2 separate regions of the Homo sapiens genome follow, and region 1 is linked to region 2. Evidence: promoter capture Hi-C in human tissues and cell types (Jung and others, 2019). All regions are on one chromosome and are shown on one strand. Each heading gives the region's core, a stretch centred on a gene start or on the middle of the fragment in contact. The rest is flanking DNA. Distances are from core to core; before and after follow the strand shown. Region 1 has its middle 36 kb from the start of RABIF. Region 2 holds the start of SYT2 (synaptotagmin 2).

Region 1 (5,414 bases), core at 2,844-5,343, 140 kb after region 2:
GTATTTTTAGTAGAGACAAGGTTTCACCATGTTGGCCAGGCTGGTCTCGAACTCCTGACCTCAGGTGATCCACCCGCCTCGGCCTCCCAAAGTGCTGGGATTACAGGTGTGAGCCACCAGGCCCGGCAACAGACACTTTAATAGAGCAGGTTTCTCCAACCTCTTTCCCTTCCTTCTGTGCCCTTATTCCACCTCTACCCAGTACTAGAGGAACCAGTAGGTTAGCAGTCTCCTAGGAACAGCTTTGGAGAAAGACTCTGGAGTAAAATAGAAAAAATCAACCGCTATAGCAAGGGAGACTTGTCTTGCTTACACGAAAGAAAGGGGGCACAAGTAAGGATACACACCCATGTCAGAGCCACGCTATTAGCGAATTAAGACAAATGACACAGTAGGTTGAGGCCCTTGTCTTTTGGGGACTATGGGGACTGAGGGAAAGGGGGAATACAGCCAAGCAGAAGACTGTCAGACCTCTCTGCTCAGAAATGCAAATACAGAGGAAGATGCTAAAAAAAGGAAGAGGCCCAACATGTGGGGACCAACCAGCACACAAGGCCACAGCCCCTCTGGACCTAAGCATGCAGTTCCATGGTAGGGGCAGTCTGTGACCCTGGGCACTATGCTGTAGGCTCTGGGATTCCCTCCTTTTGGCAAATACCCTCCCAGGGATCAAGGAGCAAGGCTCACAGATGCTGGGAATAAGTCTCTAGATTAACGCTAGTAACCAGTTTCCTGAAGCCAAAGCAAGGCCACAGATGACATTTAGGCAGCCCCAAGGCTCACTGGTGCTTAAGAGAGCAAACACGTGCTAGAATTAAGTGTCCAAAAACCAGAGTAGGTAGTTCCAGGCCAAGAGTATGGGTGGCCCTCGCCTTTCTGGCAGGGGCTGGGTTAGGTTCTGCTCAGTGGCCTTGCCAGGAACAAAGCCTGGCTCCATGGAGATTCTCTGTGGTTTAAGAATACATAAGCTTGCAACCTCTCCTGGCTGAGGGGACTTTAAGCACATTATTTAAAAGCAGCCTGGCCAGGCGAGGTGGTTCATGCCTGTGATCCTTGCACTTTGGGAGGCTGAGGTGGGCGGATCACCTGAGATCAGGGGTGTGAGACCAGCCTGGCCAACATAGTGAAACCTCATCTCTACTACAAATACAAAAATTAGCCAGGGATGGTGGCGCATGCCTGTAATCCCAGCTATTCAGGAGGCTGAGGCAGAAGAATTGCTTGAACCTGGAAGGCAGAGGTTGCAGTGAGCTGAGATCACGCCACTGCATGCCAGCCCGGGAGAGAGAGTGAGACTCTGTCTCACAAAAAAAAAAAAAAAAAAAAATAGCTGGGCACAGTGGCTCACGCCTGTAATCCTAGCACTTTGGGAGGGTGAGGAGGGCAGATTGCCTGACCTCAGGAGTTCGAGACCAGCCTGGGCAACATGGTGAAACCCTGTCTCCACTAAAATACAAAAAATTAGCCAGGAGTGGCAGTGTGCACCCATAGTCCCAGCTACTCAGGAGGCTGAGGTAGGAGAATCGCTTGAACCCAGAAGGCGGAGGTTGCAGTGAGCTGAGATCGTGCCACTGCACTCCAGCCTGGGCGACAGAGTGAGACTCCGTCTCCAAAAAAATAAATAATAATAAAATAATAATAAAAGCAGCCTCCTTGAACCTGGACTGTTCCAGAAGGGGCCATTTGTTTAGTCATTAGCTTCTGCCAGAACCTTTTACTAATAAATTGATCTCTGACACCACATGTGAGCAGATATGCCTAAGCCTCTAAAACAACAGTTCCTAATTTCCTCATTAGGAACTCCGTTGAGAATAAGAGATACGGATCTTCTTGCCTAAAAGTCTCATAGGCACTTTTAAGATTTACTTCATAGCCAGGCATGAGGTAGTGCCTGTAGGCCACCACATGGGGAGGCTGAGGCAGGAGGATGGCTTGAGCCCAGGAGTCCAAGGCTGTAGCATGCTGTGACCACATCTGTGAGAATAACCACTACATTCCAGCGCATGCAACACAGCGAGACCCTGTCCCTTAAAGTAAGTTGTTTCGTATCTTCATAGTCCCAGGCTGGAGACCACTGTTTTTTTTGGAATCCTATTTCTTGGACCCTGCGTTTGTAAGGCATCAGGACAGAGCCCTCAAGTCTAAGATGGCTGCTGCGGAGAGGCCTGTGAAGGCAACCTCTACTGCCCTCTCTTGGCCATCAGGCGGGAGGAGTGGTTAGACGTGCTTGATTCCTTGTGGCACTGAAGTCCTGCAGTTTCTGCCCCGGAATGCTGGGGGCAGATAAACTTTCGGCAGCTTTCATTAGAATCTCTAGAAAGCTTACTCTTCCTCGAACTGGGCTGGAGACAAGGGGGTACACATAGGGACCCCTGTGAAGTTGAAGTACCACAGCCTGGGTGCTGAACCGGCGAAGGCGTGTCAGGGTGGTCCGCTCACACAGGAGGGAAGCAGTGCCAATCCTCCACTAGACATGCCCTGGCTGGAGGCCCTAGCAGCAGAGGCCACCCTGCCCTTCAACTTAGAAAGACATTAAAGGAAGCTGAGAAGCTTAAAGATGGCCCACTGCCTGGGCAGAATTCCACAGAGTTCCACATCGCTTGCAATATCCATTGTATTTGTAGGGGGTCAGGGAACAGTGGAATGAGATACACACACAACTGTGGTGCGAGAGACCAGGTGTTACAGGTGCCAGGACCCCTAGAACTCCTCATGCTCATCCTCGCTGTCCAAAGATTCTGTGCCTACTTCATAATCCTTCTCCAGGGCAGCCAGGTCCTCTCAGGCCCAGAGAGCTCACCTTCCTCCATGCCCCTGTCCACATAACAGTGCATAAATGCCCGCTTGGCATACATCAGGTCAAACTTTTGGTTGAGGCGGGCCCAGGCCTCAGTGATGGCTGTGGTATTGTTTAGCACGCAGACTGCCCGCTGCACCTTGGCTACAGCACCCCCGGGCACCACTGTGGGGGACTGGTAGTTGATGCCAACCTAAGAAAAAACAAAGAAGTATAAGCGCCTGGTTCTGTGTTTCCTGGAAGGGTCTGTACAGGGATCCCTGGAACTAGGGAAGGGGCATTTGTCAACTTGTAAGAAACAAAGAGGAAGATGATCACCACCACAAGGAAACAAACAAGTCTAGAATGAGGGAGCTTCTGCAAGACAAGACTAGTGCCTTCAAAGTCAGTCAAGAAAAAGGGGGCCGGATGCGGTGGCTCACGCCTGTAATCCCAGCACTTTGGGAGGCCGAGGCGGGTGGATCACCTGAGGTCATGAGTTTGAGACCAGCCTAGCCAACATGGTGAAACCCTGTCTCTACTAAAAATACAAAAAATAGCCGGGTGTGGTGGCGGGCGCCTATAGTCCCAGCTACTCGGGAGGCTGGGGCAGGAGAATTGCTTAAACCCAGGAGGCGGAGGTTGCAGTGAGCTGAGATCACGCCACTGCACTCCAGCCTGGGTGACAGAGTGAAGCTCCGTCTCAAAACAACAACAACAACAAAACAAAACAAAAAACAGGGTCTCGCTCTGTTGCTGAGGCTGGAGAGGGGGGTGCAATCATAGCTCACTGCAGCCTAAACCTCCTGGACCCAGGTGATCCTCCCACCTCAGCCTTCTGAGTAGCTAGAACTATAAGTACACACTAGCAAGACTGGCTAATTTTTTAAAATATTTTGTACAGATGGAGTCTCACATTGCCCAGGCTGGTCTCAAACTCCTGGGCTCAAGCCATCCTCCCACCTCTGCCTCCCAAAGTGCTGGATTACAGGCCTGAATCACTGCACCCAGCCCAGAATATATAATACATTTTAGTGTTTCTCATCCTCAAAAAAAAAAAAAAAAAAAAAAAGTCAACTTCCCATTAGTGTCTCTAGGGACAACAAGCTGACCATGTCCTAAAGGCAGCCTATTCTTCCCTTAAGCAGCTAAAGATCTTCCTAATATGGAGGCAGAAACAGTCTGTTTCCCAGATAGCCTACCCCTCATTTCCATTTCTGAGCTACAGGACAACTCTTCCACACTAGCAAGCAGCTATTATTCCTGCCTGTCCTCCTGTTGTGGTCATGTCCACAGCAGTGTCATGGGGCAGGAAAGCTATATATGTTTTCTTTTTTTATTTTTATTTTTTTGAGACGGAGTCTTGCTCTGTTGCCCAGGCTGGAGTGCAGTGGCGCGATGTTGGCTCACTGCAAGCTCCGCCTCCCGGGTTCACGCCATTCTCCTGCCTCAGCCTCCCCAACAGCTGGGACTACAGGGGCATGCCGCCATGCCCAGCTAATTTTTTTTGTATTTTTAGTAGAGACGGGGTTTCACCGTGTCAGCCAGGATGGTCTCGATCATCTCCTGACCTTGTGATCCGGACACCTCGGCCTCCCAAAGTGAGCCACTGCGCCCAGCCGCTATATATGTTTTCTAATGCCACAGCTGCCATCTTTAATCTTTCTGGAGTCTTATCCCACAACAAAACCCAAAAAACAAACTAGGTCATATGCCCAGCACCCTGGGAAGGTCAACTGATAACAGGGTGGGGCATAAATGCGTGCTTCTTCCTTATTACCGCAAAAGGAAGAGAACGCATCCAGACGCAGAACACAAGAAGCCTCTGACCTTCTGATCCGCACTTTCCCCATCATCTGATAATGGGCCTCTCTGGCTTCTGAAAGCCTTCCCTTCTGAGCAGGAGCCTATAGCACGTGGTTATGTCCCTAGCACAAGTGACAAGGAGGCCATTCTCCCCATGTGACTGGCAGCCCTAGGGAACGCCTTTTTACCAGGCTAAGTAAGATGAAATTGATACTTTTCCTTTCATCAAGGCAATCTTTCAAGTAGAACCCACGCTGGCTTACAGTCCAAAGGCCTGGCTTCTAGACCAGCTGAGACCTATCCAGTTAAAGGAATCCTCTAGCGGGGCACAGTGGCTCACACCTGTAACACTTTGGGAGGCCATTGTAGGTGGATCACCCATGCGCAGGAGTCTGAGACCAGCCTGGGCAATATGGTGAAGCCCCACCTCTCCAAAAAAATACAAAGTTAGCAGGGTGTGGTGGCACAAACCTGTGGTCCCAGCTACTGAGGAGGCTGAGACAGGAGGACTGCTTGAGTGCAGGAGGTCGAGGCTGCAGTGAGCCAAGATGACGCCAGTGTACTCCAGCCTGGGTGACAGTGAGATCCTGTGCATTTGTTCCTCACACCTCCTCTGCAGGAAGCTCCCGTCTTAGCAGGTACACAGGCCATGTGCTAACTGCCCTTTACCCCCACTTGCCTTGAAACCTGTGGGACACGTCCGCAAAACAAATATTTGCTTGGTTTTAATGGTGGCAATGGTGGCATTCTCGTCCTTGGGCACCACTTCTCCACAGTAGAGCAGGCAGCAGGCCATGTACTTGCCGTGGCGAGGGTCACACTTGGCCATCTG
Region 2 (5,629 bases), core at 2,197-4,696:
TCATGATGAATTCTTTATGTAATTATCTAATTGTGTGGTATTCACTAGATTGTAAATGCCACGAGGGCAGGAAACAGGTCTGTTTTGTTCCCACCTGAATCTCCATTGCCTAGCACAGATTCTCAAAATGCAATAGTGGAACGAATGCAGAAGGGATGCTGAGTGGCTCAGTAACATGTGTAGGGCCTGCGGCTGTGCTCACCTCCCCACCCAGAGAGACTACAATAGTGGCACATGGTAGGTACTCACTAATAAAATACTTGTTGCAAATGTCAGACTTTGTACTTAGCAGCCCTGGGATTTGAACCCAGGCCTGTCTATCTCCTAGCCTCCATTCTTTGGTGCTTCATATTTAACCACTGCACTGAGTGACCCTGCCCCCCCATTACTCCCTCTGACTTGCTGTTCCAGTTCTTAAAGAGTATCCCCACCACCCTGGACCTTCAGTGGTGGGGATACTCTGGCTTCAGCTAGGACCTGCCTAGACTGGGGAAGTCCACAGAGCAAATCCCAAAGCCAAGTGAAGTAGTGTTTCTACTCATCTGCAGCCTTAAGTCCTCCACGAGGATGCTTCTGTCCAGGGAAGGGAATGATGGTCATTCTTCCAGGCAAATGAAGCCCAACCTCCTCCCACTCTGTCCTCACTGCCTTCTGTCCCCCTGCTTCCAGTGCACTCACTGCCCCTCTATCTACTCTCCCCTGAGAGGGCGGCACAGGCCTGGCGGGGAAGAAAAAGGAGACCCCATTGAGATATGATAATGTTCAGATGGAGGCAGAAAGAATGACTAGAGGTCAGGCTTGCCTAGGGGCTGGGGAACACTGGGGTAGCCTGGTCCCCAGGGCTTGAGAAGGGCAAGGAAGAGGCTTCTCCAGCCACCTCCAAAGCCCACCCCCAGGTCTCTGCAGTATCATAGACAGCCCTGTCACACCTGCCTGGAAGCTGCCTAAGGGTAGAAGGAATAAAACGAGCTCCAGCTGCAATGTGAGGGCAGGTGAGCCCAGACCCAGCTCCAGAAAGGGTCTCCTCGGCCCTGCGAGGTCTTCAGCAAGGTACATGCTTTGCCCAGGTGAAACCAGCTTCAGTCCTAAATTGAAGCCAGTTGCAAGCTTCTCTAGGTGAAAAGTCAATGTTTACGAACACCAACACTTTTTGCTTCCCCTGGTCCTGTTCTGCGGATGTCAGACCCCAAAGCTGAAAAAGAAATGTTCCTGCATAATCACCCCCTTCCCCCAAAAGAAAACCCAAGTTCCCTGGACCAAGCTCCTGGACTGCAGAACAAAGCAGACTCCCAGCAGAGTGGTCTGGTCTCTCTTCCTCCAGGGAATGGTGGGCCAGGTCTATGTGAGGCTATAACCTAGAAACTTTCCTCTGCCTCCCTCTCCTCCTCCTTTGGCAAGACAAGGAGGGGAGAAGGTAAGGATTAAGCCCAAAAGATCTCCAGAAAAAGCCAAGCCTCTGGGGGGAGTCCTAGAGGGTGAAGCCAGGGATCTGCCTGGCAGCCAAGCAGAGCAGAGGCAGCCACCCTGAGGGAAAGGTGGTTCAGTCGGGGTTCAGTGGGCACTGGCCATTTTCCAGGGGCATGGGAGGAGATGGGTTGGAGTTGGACTCCCTAGGCTGCAGTGTGCCTGGCGTGGACCCCTGACGCTGACTCACCCCCAGGGCCCTGACACACGCTGCAGCTTGCAGTGCCTGCCAGACCACCACTCTCATTCCACAGGACCAGGATGCCAGGCACGTCCCACTGCATCAGAGCCACCCTGCCCCCTTCCACCTGCCACTCGGGCCCGCCTTTGGGGCACTGGGCATGGCTTTTTTCAGCACCTCTGCTGGTCACAGAGATGTTTCTAGCAGCCCCAAAGCTGGACTTAGTCTTAAGTAGGGAGAGATGGTTGAAAGGATTAAGGGCTTCCCTGCTTCTGTCACCCCCTCTAATGAAGTGCCAGGTTATGGGGATCCAGACAGATTGGATGGAGGACAATCTATTCCACCTGGGAGAGGCCCCGCAGGGCGGCAGCAGTAGGGGAGGGAGAAGGGCACCCTTTTGCTTTCCAGGTCAGACCCCAGTTCACCTTTCTGGCTTCCTGGGCGCCCCCAGATCCTAAGGACTTCCTCCTCCTTATAAGCTAACTCAACCTGTACTACCTGCCCACGGGGCCTCTGCCCTTCCCTCCCCACTGCAGTGGCCCCTCCTGGGCCAGCACCTCTTCTGTCCTTGCACTCCCTTCTCCTGCTGCGGGGAGAGCACCTACTCTGCCACCTCAGCCAGGGGTAAGGGAGGACACTGCCCTGCCAGGAGACACCCCACGAGCCATGGGCTGGGGGTGTCCTGGAGGCACCTGTGGAATGTGGGGATGAAAAGGGAGGAGACAGGATGAGGGGGCCTGGCTTAGTGGGATGTGAAACGATAAAGCTCCACTTTTTAGTTGAAAAATAAAAGCCCTGTGCCCCAGAGGTGGGGGAAGGAGCATAGGCAGGGGAAGGGGGCACCCCAAATGGGAAAGGTACATGGAAGAGTCCAGAAAAGGGAGTCGGGCTGTCAGCACCCGCCAGGCTGCGAGCCTAGCCCTTGGGGACAGAGCTGAAGCAGGGACGGGGCGTCCTAGGTCGTGCTGAGTCATGAGATTTGGAGAGAGGGGAGGGGCGCCTCCAGCCCCTTCTTGGGCCCCTGCCCCAGCTCCTCGTGCCCGTTGCTTCCAGATGGCCCCTGCAGTCTGTCTCCCCAACCTCTCCCTGACCCAGGGTCTCCGGCTCCCAGCGCCCAGACCCCACCCCCCGCCCCACTTCCCACGACGGCGGTGCCAGGGGTCCCCGAAGCTTGAGACTGGGGCAAAAGAACCTTCCTTGGAGACCGCTAGGGCTGGCGGGGGCTGGGCTAGACGCGAGTGGGTTCGTCCCAGGGAAAGGAGAGAGGGACGGGGGCGCAGAGCCGGCCGGTGCAGGGGACGCGTGGCCCGCCCCTCTCTGCAGCAACCCGCGGGAGGAAATCTGCCCCCAGCCCAGCCCCAGTCCCTCAGAGGAGCCGGCTCCTCGCCCCTCGGGTCCGACTCCCCGAGACGAACCTTCCATCCGGACGCTTCCAAACTCCCCCAAAGGACGGGGCAGACTCCCGGCCCCCTTGGCCTCAAACTTCCCCAACCCTACTCACCTCTCGGGACCCAGACCACCCCGTGGCCCCTCGACTCAGTAGCAGGAAAGGAGAAACTTTGGAGAGGGAGGTCCGTGCCCCCACCGGCGGGGGTATGGACTTACCGGAGAGCGACCCGAAGGAGGCGGGAGAGATCCGGGGTCTCCAATGTGAGGGGGCGTCGGACGGCAAGGACGCGTGGCTGGCGACGGTTTCGCAGGGGCGCCCGTTCCCCTGGGGGCGCGAAGTCCCCGCTCCACCGCTGCCCCAACTCGGCTCCGAAGTGCCTTTGCCGCAAGACTTGCTGAGCTTAGCAGTCTGCGCCGAGGCGGCAGAGGGAGGGGGCCTGATCGATGGGCGCGCGCGGCGAGCGCTGCAGTGAGGGGAGGAGACCAAGCGGCGTGGGAGGGCGGGGACCGAGGCGGAGGAGGCCCGGAGGAGGCGGAGGGCGGGCCTGCCCCCCGGGACGGGTTCTTTCTGCGCAGCCCCCCAGGCGCTCGGCGCCCCCGCCTCCTGCTCAAGGTCAAGGAGGCTGCTTCCCCAGCAGGAAGGCGGACTGGAAAGGAGCTCTATACTCCCCACCCCAGAAGGCTGGTCTCCTTTCTAGCCAGCTCCTTCTCTCCAACTTCCCGAACCCACTGCAGCTCAAGGCTAAATTATTGGGCTCAGGAGCCCCCATCCCCATGGCCATTTTGGGATCCCTGAGCCCCTAGCCTCCCCTCCTCCCCTCTCCGCTTAGGTCACCGCTACCTATATTGGCCACCTGGATGGTGGGGGCTTCTGAGCCTAAAGGTTGGGTGAGAGAGAGGAGGATGCTTGAGAGAAGACAGCGGTGCCTGAGGCCTATGGAAATAGAACAGCGGAGGGGAGAGTAAGAACTGCAGGGTGACAAGGAGAGAGGAGCTGGAAGACGGTAGAAAGAAAAGGAGGACGCTACTGGTTATTAAAGACAGGGTGTTCACACATGTTAGTTTGCTTAATACGTAAGACATCCCTTTAAGGTGGGCATTTTGCGTGGGCAGTTTGCAGGTGGGGAAACAGTCCCTGAATGGTGCGTTGGACCAAGGAGCTGCAGACAGTTAAGTGGTGGCATTTCGGAAGAGCCTGGGAGAAAGAGAAGGGTGGCAAGGGCAAAACAGAGCCCTTCCTAACCTACCCAGGAGCTGCCAGGGCAGCACCAGAACTTCCTTACAGCACAATTTGAATATCCGCTTTAACTCTTTTGGAGTTAACTTTTTTTTTTCTTTTTTTTTTAGACAAGTCTCACTCTGTTACCCAACCTGCAGTGCAGTGTGCAGTGGCGCGATCTTGGCTCACTGCCACCTCTGCCTCCTGGGTTGAAGGGATTCTCCCGCCTCAGCCTCCCGAGCAGCTGGGATTACAGACGTGCGCCACCACACCCGGCTAATTTTTGTATTCTTAGTAGAGATGGGGTTTTGCCATGTTGGCCAGGCTAGTCTCGAACTCCTGACCTCAAGGGATCCACCCACTTCAGCCTCTCAAAGTGCTGGGATTACAAGCATGAGCCACTGCGCTTGGCCTGGAGTTAACTTTTATAATAGGACTGTAGCATCCTGCCTCGCTTTTGGGTACAAAACCGTACATGGCCTGAGGTCAGTCTTCAATACGTACTAGGTGAGTGAGTGAGAGGTGGAATGAATGCAATATGAGGAGATGCAAAGAACAAGTGGGATTCAGGCTTTGGGGAGAGAAGAGGCAGTGGAGGGCACTTTTCAGATCACTGTGCCAATAATACCAGGTGTTACTGGCAGACCATCCCCAGTTGGAGACTATCCCCAGTTTGGCTTGCCTCAGAGCAAGGCGGCAAGTGGCTGCCGACTCAGTGGATGTTACGAAAAAGGTGGGGGAAGACCTCTGGGGAGTCCTCAATCAGGCTGAAGCTGTGCTCACAGCCCCTGAGGCACAGAGGCCCTCCCCCTTCACCTGTGGAGCAGCCAGAACAAGGGCAGTGGAGGAAATGGGGAGCCAAGTTACAATGGACTAATGAGACCTTTACATTCAAAGAGGTTACCCACCACCCCCACCCTTAGCCAGGTGTGTTCCAGGACTTGTTGCTTCCCCAAAGGGGCTGGCTCTACTCTATTCATTCCTTCCTGCTCCCCATGCCAACAACCAGTATCTGCAGGACTCCAGCCAGAAAGAGGGCTGCAGCCCCCTCGCACAGAATCAAGCCAAGCGAACTGGCCTGATGCGCTTCAACTTTTCCACGGCAGCAGACTCAGCTGCCTACTGTTCTGATCAAAGCCTTGTGTCAATCTGGTGCCCCAGCTTCTTCTCCTAAGCACGTCAGAGGAAGCCAGCCTGCCTTCCCAGGCTATTAGGAGAGTCAGAGCTGTAATCAATTTGGTTAAATGAAAAATGTGGTGTCGCTGGCTACAGCCTTAATGTTCTTTTAATTCATCAGGACCAGTAGTGTCTGGGTTACAAACCTAATCAAGAGCTCAACATCCCTCTTGCTTATTCCCCCAGGCTTCAGGAGCTGG

Evidence for each region. The method cuts DNA at HindIII sites, captures the fragments that hold promoters and counts their contacts. A contact is called where the count stands out against the background at its distance.
Region 1: a contact is called between a fragment that was not itself captured here and the fragment with the promoter of SYT2 in region 2, in 2 of the 25 tissues and cell types used here (H1 embryonic stem cells and pancreas).

Annotation. Positions count from the first base shown.
Region 1 is chr1:202,850,291-202,855,704 of GRCh38, forward strand. It overlaps the pseudogene TUBA5P. Among named protein-coding and RNA genes, the nearest start is that of RABIF, 36 kb to the right of the region's middle. RefSeq lists an enhancer at 2,737-3,236. The HindIII fragment of the contact is 4,898 bases long and covers 1,645-5,414 here.
Region 2 is chr1:202,707,008-202,712,636 of GRCh38, forward strand. SYT2 (synaptotagmin 2) reads right to left here and starts at 3,447. Exons shown (of 9, transcript NM_177402.5): 1 at 3,251-3,447. The HindIII fragment of the contact is 5,475 bases long and covers 1,962-5,629 here.